Regions from separate parts of the Homo sapiens genome. Here region 2 is linked to region 1. Evidence: promoter capture Hi-C in 16 types of primary human blood cells and fetal thymus (Javierre and others, 2016). All regions are on one chromosome and are shown on one strand. Each heading gives the region's core, a stretch centred on a gene start or on the middle of the fragment in contact. The rest is flanking DNA. Distances are from core to core; before and after follow the strand shown.

The links. Contacts are between HindIII fragments. The CHiCAGO score rates a contact against its expected background, and 5 or more counts as called.
Region 2: the fragment with the promoter of UBLCP1 here is called in contact with the fragment with the promoter of FEM1C in region 1 in 1 of 17 cell types (fetal thymus); the score reaches 22.8 in fetal thymus.

What each region holds. Positions count from the first base shown.
Region 1 is chr5:115,541,780-115,547,764 of GRCh38, reverse strand. It overlaps FEM1C (fem-1 homolog C), which reads left to right and starts at 2,990. Exons shown (of 3, transcript NM_020177.3): 1 at 2,990-3,242; 2 at 4,082-4,815. The coding sequence starts at 4,272. RefSeq lists silencers at 2,700-3,039, 3,140-3,189, 3,240-3,409 and enhancers at 2,839-3,133, 2,675-3,441. The HindIII fragment of the contact is 1,787 bases long and covers 2,016-3,802 here.
Region 2 is chr5:159,260,934-159,266,918 of GRCh38, reverse strand. It overlaps UBLCP1 (ubiquitin like domain containing CTD phosphatase 1), which reads right to left and starts at 3,629. Exons shown (of 11, transcript NM_145049.5): 1 at 3,559-3,629. RefSeq lists enhancers at 3,389-3,896, 3,653-3,962, 3,993-4,062, 3,897-4,404. The HindIII fragment of the contact is 1,074 bases long and covers 2,933-4,006 here.

The sequences.
Region 1 (5,985 bases), core at 1,741-4,240:
TGTTTTACAATTAAGTGCACACATTTATTGTTAAATACTACTTCTTACTAGAATGAGACAAAGTTCAGATTCAATGTTTTCTCAATTTTTCATTTTTATAAATTCTGAGAAAATGTTTTCACATTAATAAGTAGATGGAGGCTGGGTGTAGTGGCACACACGTGTAGTCCCAGCACTTTGGGAGGGGGAGGCAGGTGGATTGCTTGAGCTCAGGAGTTCAACACTTGCCTGGGCAACATGGTGAAATGCTGTCTTTACAAAAAAAAAAAAAAAAAATTGCCAGGTGTAGTAGTGCATGCCTATTGTCCCAGCTACTTGGGAGGCTGAGATGGGAGGATCACTTGAGCCCAGGAGGTCGAGGCTACAGTGAGCTGAGATTGTGCCACTGTACTCCAGCCTGGGCAACAGAGAAAGACCCTGTCTAAAAAAAAAAAAAATAGTAGTTGGGTCTATAAGGAGTTTTGTCATTATATCAATGTCACTTAATTCTTTGAACTCCTTCTAATCGATATCAGTGATCTTTAGGTCATACTTTTTTCAAAGCAATTATTTGGAAATCATCTGACTTGCAAAAGAATTTGTTACCCAGTCATTAGAAGTATACACTTTCTAATATAGATCAGTGTTTTAAATTTATAAAGAATTGGCAAAGATTGCTGAGCCTTTTATAACCCAGAGCAATGCCTGTAAGATTCTCAAATGTCTTTCCTTTTACAAATTGGGAAACATACAGCTATTGTGAAAGAGTTGGGAAATGAGACACCTTGACCATATTCCTTTACCAGCAGATCAATTTTAGGAAAGAACGTAGGTGTAAATTGAAGATTCAGAAACTGGTAGCCTTTTTTTTTTTTTTTTTTTGACAGAGTTTCCTTCTGTGGCCCAGGCTGCAGCACAGTGGTGTGATCATGGCTCACTATAGCCTTGATCTCCCCAGCTCAGCTCAGGTGATCCTGCCACCTCAGCCTCCTGCATGCCATGCCTGACTAATTTTTTGTGTGTGTGTGCGTGTGCGTGCATGTGTGTGTGCGTGTGTGTGGAGTTGGGATTTCACCATGTTGTCCAGGCTGGTCTCGACCTCTTGGGTTCAAGCAATCTGCCTGTCTCAGCCTCCGAAAGTTCTGGGATTACAGGTGTGAGCCACAGCAGAAATTGGTAGCCTTTAAACTAAGTGTCCGTCTATCCCTTAACAATCCCATGAGGGATACAGAGCTCAGTTTGAAGATGGCTGATGTGAATGTTTACATCTTATTGAATTAGGTGAGAGAGACAGGTCAGCTCAGGTTAGGCCTTGGTTGGGACACTGTACACTGTTATCTGTACCCTGGGAGAGTATAGAACTGTGACATATGCTGGGGATAAAACAGCCAGTCCTCTTGGCTGGTTAATTTTTATGGATGGTCAATCTTATCCTTTATACTCTATTCTTTTATATTTTCTTCTCAGTGGCAATTACCTTAACTTCAGTTTTGGGAATCTGATGTTGAGTGTAGTCTGATACTGACTACCTAAGGGAAATACTATGCTATACTTAAAAATTATTAAGACTGTAAAAACATAAGAAACGTTTAGAGTATAGAAAGGAAAAGCAAAATATATAGTTGTATGAAAATTATTTCAATTATGCAAAACTACATAAACTTCTGAACAACACTACAATATACAAAAATGAAGTTGTGATTTTTTATAAATGTTTTTAGTGCTGCATGACTTCTAACATAACGTTATGGATTACATATGCTGAGGGTCAGACTGCCTACTGTAATATTCTATTTCTCCTAGTGGTACTAAGGAATTATGTGAGCTTAAGTTCCCTCAAACAAAGTGATTGAAGGTCCATTTTCAAAAATTCTGTTTTCTCATCAGGATTCATTATGGGCGTTATTTCCCAAACACATTTAAACTTTTTCATCCTAGTTTAATGCAACGTAGGTTTTAGCATCAAATTCCAGAGGTTTATCAACTACTATATGAAGAAGTAATTCTTTTCATTCATATATATAACCTTTTAAGCTTTAGTTCCCGATTTATTACTCAGAGCTCAAGAACCTGACCTCATTGACTTTACATTGCTCTTAGGGTTTACCATTCCTCGTAGCCTTTATGCTTTTTAGAGGCTACTTTAGAAAGAGAGTCAGTTTGACAGCCTCCAAAACTAATCACATTTTCTGAAATTTCAGTTTCCTCCGTGTGTGTTCTGAGGTGTAATTACGAGCTTGGTAATTTCCAGGGCCCACCAAAGTAAGGACGGAAGACTAGTCCGAGAGACTTCACGTGTGTGAGGGTAATACTGGTCCGCACCCAAATTTGAATTTTAGCTCCCATGATTCCCACATATTGTGGGAGGGACCTAGTGGGAGATAATTGAATCAAGAAGGCTGTTTCCCCCATGCTGCTCTGGTGGTAGTGAGTACGTCTCAGGAGAGCTGATTGTTTTATATGGGGTTTCCCTTTTTCCTTGGCTCTGATTTTCCTCTCTTGCCTGCTGCCATGTAAGACGTGCCTTTCCCCTTCTGGCTTGATTGTGAGGCCTCCCCAGCCACGTGGAACTCTGAGTGCATTAAATCTTTTTATCTTTATAAATTACCCAATCTCGGGTATGTCTTTATCAGCAGCGTGAAAACGCACTAATACACTTCCCTTCTGGGGTCTCTGAGATGGGACCGAAAGATTCCCTAAGGGAGCACCCCGAAAATCCGAGAGGAGAAGAGCCAGCGAGATCTCAGAACTCGAGCTGCCTCGGGCCGCTTCGATGGGCACAGATCCGCCCCCTCGCAGCGCCCCGCCCCCCAGCGCGTTGCACGCAGGCACGTCCTCCCAGTAGTTCAGGCCCCGCCCCCTCCCCGTCGCCCCACCCCGGCCGCGACGCCCCGCCCCGCGCCTAGGCTGTTGCTGGCCGCGGCCGCCGCCCTCCCCCGGCCCAATGGCGTGGCGGCACAGTCAGTGATGTGACGCTCAGGCTTGTCCGGCCCCCGGCTCGCAGCCCATTACACCATCCGTCGCAGCAGTCGCTGCAGCCGCTGCAGTCCGAGCCGACTAAGGGCGGGAGGCAGCTCGGGTGGCGGGGCGTGGCGAACAGCGCGGCCGGATTCATTCCTTTGGGGCGCGGAGCATGGAGGAGCTGTGCGGCCGCAGGCGGAGCAGGGCGGCCCGGGCGGCGGTGGGGACAACGGTTTCCCTTTGAAGGGGACGGACAAAGCCCGAGTGACCAGCGGCGGCGGGGAGGACTAGTCCCCGGGCAGGTAGTGGCGGCGGCAGCGGCCTGCCAGGGCTCGGGCCGGGGCCTGAGGTGCCCGCGGAAGGCCTGGGCGGGAAGGAGGGCGCCGGGGGAGCCGAAGGCGGGCAGCGGGCTGGAGGCCACAGCTTGGCCCATCGGGAGGGGGTTGTGGTCGATGGAGGAGATTGGGAGGGGGCTGCCGTTGTCTGGAACAGGGAGAGGGGAAGGTTGTGTTGGGGCGACTGTGGTTTGAGGAACCTGCGGATCATCCCTTGGCGGGGGGTGGGGGGTGATCGAAATGGGGCGGGCGAAGTTAATGACTAAAAGGCAGGCGGATTTCCTGAGAGCCGTGAGTAGTTTTAAAGGAAAGAGAATCTTTCGGGGCACAGTTTTGGCCTTAGCCGGGGTTTGGTGTGTCCGACCTTTTTGTTCTTTCTCGAAACCCGGCCTCAGGCCTTCCAGCCTGGCGCCCTTGGCCAGCTCTCCTGCAGTTGCAAGAAAGAGAAACATTTCTGAACCCGAGTCTCCTGCCTCTTTCGGTTGTACTCTCCCTGGGCGTGTGCAAAGCAAAACTAGAACAAAGCTTGGCTGGTTAGAGCTGGAGGCGAGAAAACGGGCTGCCTGTAGTGTTTAAATTTTCCGCACATGGAGGAGACTGCCTGCGACCAGAACATTTGGGTCTCTGTGTATCCTTCTGTATTTTTCTTTACCACCTTTTCTTTGGGGGTGGGGGGGGTGTGTGGGATGGAGTAGTGCCTGAAGTATAGCTTTTATTCCTTTCTTCCCACAGAAGTGGAAATTAAGAAGTGTTTTGCCTTCTTCTATAGAAAATTAAATGCTGCTACTTTTTTTTTCTTTCTCTAGTTTGGTGCCCTGGTTGTCAGATGTTGGAAAGCAGTAGGACGGAACATACTCTTCGTGGTTGTGTATCCGTTCTGGGGTGCAGCAATTAACATTGGACTTTGGTTCCTGTGACTCTTGCCTGTGTCGATAGAGTTAAACTGGAGCTCTGCTTTGAAAGATAAATAAAGCACAGCCTCTCAACTGGACATAAATGGATCTAAAGACAGCAGTATTTAACGCAGCTCGGGATGGCAAACTCCGGCTTCTCACCAAATTGTTGGCAAGCAAATCCAAAGAGGAGGTTTCCTCCTTGATCTCTGAAAAAACAAATGGGGCCACGCCACTCTTGATGGCCGCCAGGTATGGGCACCTTGACATGGTGGAATTCCTCCTAGAGCAATGCAGTGCCTCCATAGAAGTTGGGGGCTCCGTCAATTTTGATGGCGAAACCATTGAGGGGGCTCCCCCTTTATGGGCCGCTTCTGCAGCAGGACATCTGAAGGTGGTCCAGTCCTTGTTAAATCATGGAGCATCTGTCAACAACACGACTTTAACCAATTCAACTCCTCTTCGAGCTGCGTGTTTCGATGGCCATTTGGAAATAGTGAAGTACCTTGTAGAACACAAAGCTGATTTGGAAGTGTCAAACCGACATGGGCATACGTGCTTGATGATTTCATGTTACAAAGGACATAAAGAGATTGCTCAGTATTTACTTGAAAAGGGGGCAGATGTTAATAGAAAAAGTGTCAAAGGTGAGTTCAGCTTCTTTGTTTTTCTAAATGTCTACCACTTATTTTCAGGAAGTTTGATACATCATTATAAGCACTGGTGTTGAGTAAACCAGCATTGACAGACCTGTTTTGATTAGGTAAGTCTTCCAGTATGACTTTGTTGAGTGTTTCTATGATGTTTGGTAATAGATTGAAAAAGTGTGATAAAAGACTTCTGTTACTCTGTTAAGCAGTATTTTCTCTCTTATTTGGAGTAACTTAAAATTCTTGGGAAATGGGTTCCCCAGAGTTACAGAGCATGTTAGTGGTAGCTGATCTGAGCCTTTAGGCTTATGCTTAATCTACTTGGGAATATGGTTAAATGTAATACATTTTTCTTAGCTTTTTGTTTTGTTTTTTTTTTTTTTAGAACAACCTTGGAGTAGAAATTACTATATTTATTGAGTCATGGTCTTGTTTGTTCTAGGCAGTCATTTCACTTTTTCTGTCAGAGAAGGCTAGGCTAAACTGACCTGGAAGGATTAATATCAGTGGAAAGGAGCAAATCTGTTCCCTTATTCTATATTTGTTTGTGGTCAATAGATAATCCTTTTATAAGAACATGCATTAAATATAGCAAGAGAGAAAACACATTTTTAAAACTGCTTCAATACTGAGAGTGAAGAACAAGGACTAGATTAAACAGATGTGGATTTGTTGGCTAGCAACAGTGTAAACACCTTTGTCCAGAAGAAGGGCTCCGGTTTTTGATTGTGTATAATTTTTGTTGATTGTAATAAACTAAAAGCAGCAAAAAGTAGTTTAGAATTTTTTTAACCCTTAAAAGCAACTGCCTTGATAGCATAATTTTGATACTTGAAAACCTTAACTTCCCTTACACGAATCTATTTATACGACAGCAAAATAATTCACTACCTAATTTTTAAAAGCCATTAAAATTTAAAAGTAGCATATAGACATGTTAAAAAAAATCAAACAGTGTAAATTGGTTTACATTGTTGGTTTACATTTGAATAAAAAGTCTTATTCCTGATTTCTAGATCTCTAATGCGCTGACAACCACTATTTACAGTTTTTTATGTGTCCTTTTAGAGTTGGTCTATGCAAATACAAGCATACTTGTCTATGTACAAGCATGCTTGTTTGTGTAGCCCTCCGTCTAGTGGTTGATTACATACTTTTTTATCTTTA
Region 2 (5,985 bases), core at 2,380-4,879, about 44 Mb before region 1:
GTTTCCATATATCTTCTGAAATCTAGGCACAGGTTCCCAAACCTCAATTCTTGACTTCTGTGTACCCACAGGCTCAACACCATATGGAAGCTACCAAGGCTTGAGGCTTCCACCCTCTGAAGCCACAGCCCAAGCTGTAAGTTGGCCCCTTTCAGCCATGGCTGGAGTGGCTGGGATACAGGGCACCAAGTCCCTAGGCTGCACACAGCGCGGGGACCCTGGGCCGGGCCCACGAAACCTTTTTTCCTTCCTGGGCCTCCGGGCCTGTGCTGGGAGGGGCTGCCATGAAGGTCTTTGACATAGCCTGGAGACATTTTCCCCACGGTCTAGGGGATTAACATTAGGCTCCTTGATACTTACGCAGATTTCTGCAGCCAGCTTGAATTTCTCCACAGAAAATGCGTTTTTCTTTTCTACTGCATAGTCAGGCTGCTAATTTTCCAAACTTCTATGCTCTGCTTCCCTTATAAAACTGAGTGCCTTTAACAGTACCCAAATCACCTCTTGAGTGCTTTGCTGCTTAGAAATTTCTTCTGCCAGATACCCTAAATCATCTTTCTGAAGTTCAAAGTTCCACAAATCTCTAGGGCAGGGGCAAAATGTTGCCAGTACCTTTGCTAATACATAACAAGAGTCACTTTTACTCCAGTTCCCAACAAGTTCCTCATTTCCATCTGAGACCACCTCAGCCTGGACCTTATGGTTCATATAGCTATCAGAATTTTGGGCAAAGCCATTCAACAAGTCTCTAGGAAGTTCCAAACTTTCCCACATTTTCCTGTCTTCTTCTGAGCCCTCCAAACTGTTCCAACCTCTGCCTGTTACCCAGTTCCAAAGTTGCTTCCACGTTTTCGGGTATCTTTTCAGCAATGCCCCACTCTACTAGTACCAATTTACCGTATTAGTCTGTTTTCATGCTGCTAAGACATACCCAAGGCTGGCCACAGTGGCTCATGCCTGTAATCCCAGAACTTTGGGAGGCTGAGGCAGGTGAATCACCTTAGGTCAGGAGTTCAAGACCAGCCTGGCCAATGTGGTGAAACCCCATCTCTACTAAAAATACAAAAAAAAATTAGCCAGAGGTGGTGGTGGGCGCCTGTAATCCCAGCTACTTACAGTTCCACAATGGCTAGGGAGGCCTCAGAATCATGGCAGAAGGTAAAAAGCACTTCTTACATGGCAGTGGCAAGAGAGAATGAGGAAGACAGAAAAGCGGAAACCCCTGATAAATCCATCAGATCTCATGAGACTTATTCACTTATTCACAAGAATAGCACGGGAAAAATCGGCCCCCATGATTCAATTACCTCCCACTGGGTCCCTCCCACAATAAGTGGGAATTCTGGGAGATACAATTCAAGTTGAGATTTTGGTAGGGACACAGCCAAACCATATCAATCAGAAAATACAAAACCCATGGGTACAGATCTAAGCACACAAAGATTATATAGTGGCTGCCACTCATGTAAATAACCAAACATATGTCTCTTCCTGCATAAAGCTTTCTATTTTTCATTAAACTCATTCCTCCCACAGTCCAGAGAACTGGATTTTCTAATCTCAAGGTATTGGTATTTCCAATGCTTTCACTTATTTGATGAAACATTTGATTGCACTCTTCATGCAACTATTAGGACCAACTGCAAGAAAGAGGTTAAATTTTTAATCTCCACTTCCAAAAATAATTTAAAAACAGTGTCTCCTACTAAAAGGCCAATTAGAAGAGAGAGCCATAAATTCATATTTATATTTACTCATATATGAATACAAATATGAACTATAAATGTATATTTACTCCTATGTTTACAATGTGTTCTACTGAAAATGTAAAGCAAGTGTCTTAATTTAGGGTAACGTATTCCATTTTAGACAGAACTATAACAAATGTTATATTCTTCAATTAAAAGTGGACCTTTTGAGTTAAACTGAAATACAGTTTAAATATTTTCTGTAAGACATAAGAATAAAAGGGAATCCTACGAGAGCTAGAAAGGCAACCAGCACTAATATCGCATATATTGTGATGCGTAGTAGTGCAGAGTTTGGAGTGAAATCATCTGAGTTCCAGGTGACCCTGGACAAGTGATTGCTCTTCTAGACTAGTGGTTTTCAAAGCATGGTCCCTGGGCTAACGAACAGCATTGACCTCACTTGGTAATTTGGTAGAAATGTAATTGGGGTGGAGAGAAGGGACCTAGGAATCTGTGTTTTAACAAGGTCAGTCCTCCTCACCTCTGATGAATGCTCAAATTTGAGAGTCAGTACTACAGGCTCTTCAATGTTTTCAGCCTTAAAAAAAATGTGCCAGAGGGCATGGGCTCTATATGGTTAATAAAGCAGCATAAAAACGTTACGAAGCACCTATCCCACAAGTGGAAATTCCAAGTTGGCAAATGCCTTAAAGGGCCAAGCGAAACAAACACCATAAAAATTGTAAATGCATATGTCTTTAAGATTTGTTTAAAAGTTACTGAACCTTATTTCATCATTAAGACCGTTCACACCAATGAAGCAGTGTGATATAAATGCATGAGCTATTTTGCTTTCACATTTAACCTTCTTTCTTAGTATTTTGTATCATTTCAGATCCCATCAGATTTATAAGCTGAAAAATGATTTGGGGTGTGGGGAGGAGTGAAGTTGGCAAACCCAAACAAGCAAGCAAAGAATACACTTCCATATGGTCAACCTAGGGTCAAGAATAGCTGTTTAGGTTGGAGTTCTACCTAACATACTGTGTTGACTTTGCCTAGTCAATCCACCTCTTGGCCTCAGTCTTCTCAACAAGATGAGGCTACTAATATTCACTGGACAGGAGTAGTGTTAAGGTATGAAGTAACACCTGTGACAGCACTTTGTAAACTGTAAAACACAATACAAATGGTGTTCATGATGGAATAAAAACATGCTAAACAATTATCTCATTGAAGCTTCACAATCCTGAACCAACAGCTGTTGTCCTCATTATACAAATGAGAATCCTGAAAAGAAATTAAACTTGCCCGGGACCACAAACCTAAAAAGTGGCAAATGAAGAAATTTTAAAGTATAGCAGTAAAAGTAACACTTTGGGAATTAACGGGAGGTTAACTTTCAACAATCCCAGCAAAAGATAACCGTGAAGCACTAAGAACTCCGGCGAGAACCGCACACCAGCAACAACTGCGAGGTGGTGCAGGGTCGGGGGCTGTGCTAACTGACTTAGGGGAGCATTAGGAGGCAGGTGGAGGCTCCAGAACCAAAAAGGCCGGGATGCCTTCAACAAGGAGGTTGAGGGGAGGGATGGACAAGCCTGAGAAGACGGAGGAATGAAGTTTGGGGACGCAAAACCCACTGGGAAACAGAAAGCCCTCCAAATAGGCTAGACTGCTGGATGGGAGGACAGCGGCCCCCGCGACTAAGCGGGCCGGGGCTAGGGGCCTGGGCGTCAGACTAGGACAGACACTATCCCCAGCCCGCCGCAGTGCAAGCCACGCCGCGCGGGCCGCAAAGCCACTGTCCCCGAGCCCCAACAGCGTCTCCAAGGGCAGCGCGCCAGGGTGCCCCGCAACCCCTCACCTGGAGCGCGGTGGAACCTGCGGCAGCGGACGCAGAAACCGGCCGCTGAGAGACCGAAAGCGACCGGAAGTGAAGGGCGGGACCGGAACCGGCTGAAAAACCGGAAGTGGGTGGTTTGAAACGGAAATATGTTGGGGACGGAACAACTGCTTCCTTTGAATCTCTTCGGGTGCTAATCAAATGGCCGCTGTAAGGGATCTCCACAAAGCCACGAAGAAGCCAGGCCTTTCCGAGACTGTAACCGCTGTGCAGATAGCGCCGATCCCTGGGTGGCCGCTCTCTCGTTCTGCGCGTGCGCTCGTTCTGGGCTGGGAGCGGATGGGTGCTGAGGCGTGTGACGTCTCTAGTAGTGTCGTAACTGGGTGTGCTGCCTTTTCCAGGTGTACTGAGGTCTTCGTGAGATTCAGGGCTAGGACTCGTGTGGCTGTGTCATGTTCCGAATGAAGCTTAAAAGGTGATCTTTGAGAACTGAAGACTTGAGACCCCTCCATGGGCCCAGGGGCTGCCAACACTAATAATTTCAGAGACTTAGAATCTGAGGAGAATCTCCAATCTAAGGGGAAACGGAAGAGGGTCAGGAAAGAGAAGGGGCAAGCTTAAGTGACTCAGAATCCAAGAAGCAAGTCTCATAGGAGAGCTGCGATCGAGGTTACCATACAGTATCCAATCGTCTCAACCTTCCCATCCATACTTCCATGCTGTCTTTCCTCTGAATGCAAGGAAAACCGGTTACACAAACGCTGACAAAAGAATGTCAGACTTGAATGGAAATTCGGAGCAGTACCCATCTGGTCCATACAGCGAACTCCCAGTGAGCACCACGGCAATGTAACTAATTCATGTTTCCCTCTTGGCAGTGCGGGAAAGGCAGCAAAGAGCCAAGTTTTGTATCTTAACAGTTCTTTAGTTAAGAGGCACACGCTATTTTGCATTCTTCCCTACTTTTGATAATTTTTGGCTGCACTAGTAATGCATGAGTATCTGCTCATTTAAAAAACTCAAACTTTTTCAGTGAAAAGTATGCCCTTTTCTTCAGAAAGTCTTAATTAAAAAAAAAAAAAAAATCATTGCCCAGACCAACATTTTCAAGCATTTTCTCAAATCGTTTTCTTGGAATAGCTGCATAGTTTTGGGTCTTACATTGAAGTTTGGTGCTCATATGTGGGAGCTAAAAAAAAGTTGACTCCATGGAGATAGAGAGTAAAATTGTGGTTACCAGAGGCTGGGAAGGATAAGGAGGGAGAAGGAGATGAAGAGAAGTTAAAAGGAGCGAAAATATGGTTAGACAGAAGGAATAAGTTGTAGCGTTCCACAGCACAGTAGGGTGACTATAGTAATCAATAATTTATTTTGTATTTCAAAATAGAGGAGAAAGGTTGGGATAGTCTCAACACAAATGATAAATGTTGGCCGGGCACAGTGTGGCTCACACCTGTAATCCCAGCACTTTGGGAGGCCAAGACAGGCAGATGACTAGAGGTCAGGAGTTCAAGACCAGCCTGGCCAACATGGTGAAACCCAGTCTTTACTAAAAATAAAAAAAATTAGCTAGGTGTGGTGGCATGTGCCTTTAACCCTAGCTACTCGGGAGGCTGAGGCATGAGAATCACTTGAGCCTGGGAGGTGGAGGTTGTAGTGAGCCAAGATCATGCCACTGCACTCCATCCTGGGTGATAGAGCAAGACTATCTCAAAAAAAAAAAAAAAAAAAAAGAAAAGAAGAACTTTTGCCTCCTGTTGCTCCCTGGAGCCTCTCTTCTAATGTGTGGAGGATAATATACTTGTCCTTCATTCATGCATCTCTGTAGCAGCTAAAGATGCCTGGGAATTCCTCCATAGATTGTCAGGTCTGAGAGTCTAAATAATATATGGAAACAATTTCACAACATCAGATGACAAACTGTTAATATTACTGTGACCACATTTACTTTGGAAGATAAAAGGACATTCCTGCACCTAGGCCAGAAATCCCCCACTACTCTGCTTTTATCTCCATCTCCCCCAGACTTTTTTCTCCCCTTTTCTCTCTCTGGCCATTTTCTTTCTCTAGCAAGTGTGTTCTCTTGCCCAGCTCAGATCTACTCCCCTCAAAAAGCTTTCCCTCTCTTCCCAGTTGGAAGACAATCCTCTTCAAAAATTTAGTTCCCTCTAGAAGTTTGTCTCTCTCTTCTAATACCTACTCCTTTGCCTTTATCTTGCCTGCAGTAAGAGAGCTGAAAATATTTAGAATCTGCCCCACATGACAGAATACAGGTTCTTAATGAAGCATGCCCAGTTACTGCCCTTCTCTATTCAGCATGCTTTCCCCAAACTACTACTTAAAAACTCCATTCTCTTCAAACCTCAGAACTTCCAATATACTCCTTTGCTCTAGGCAGATGACATTGTCCCATATTTTGGCAATTCTTCAAACCTCTGAATCTACAAA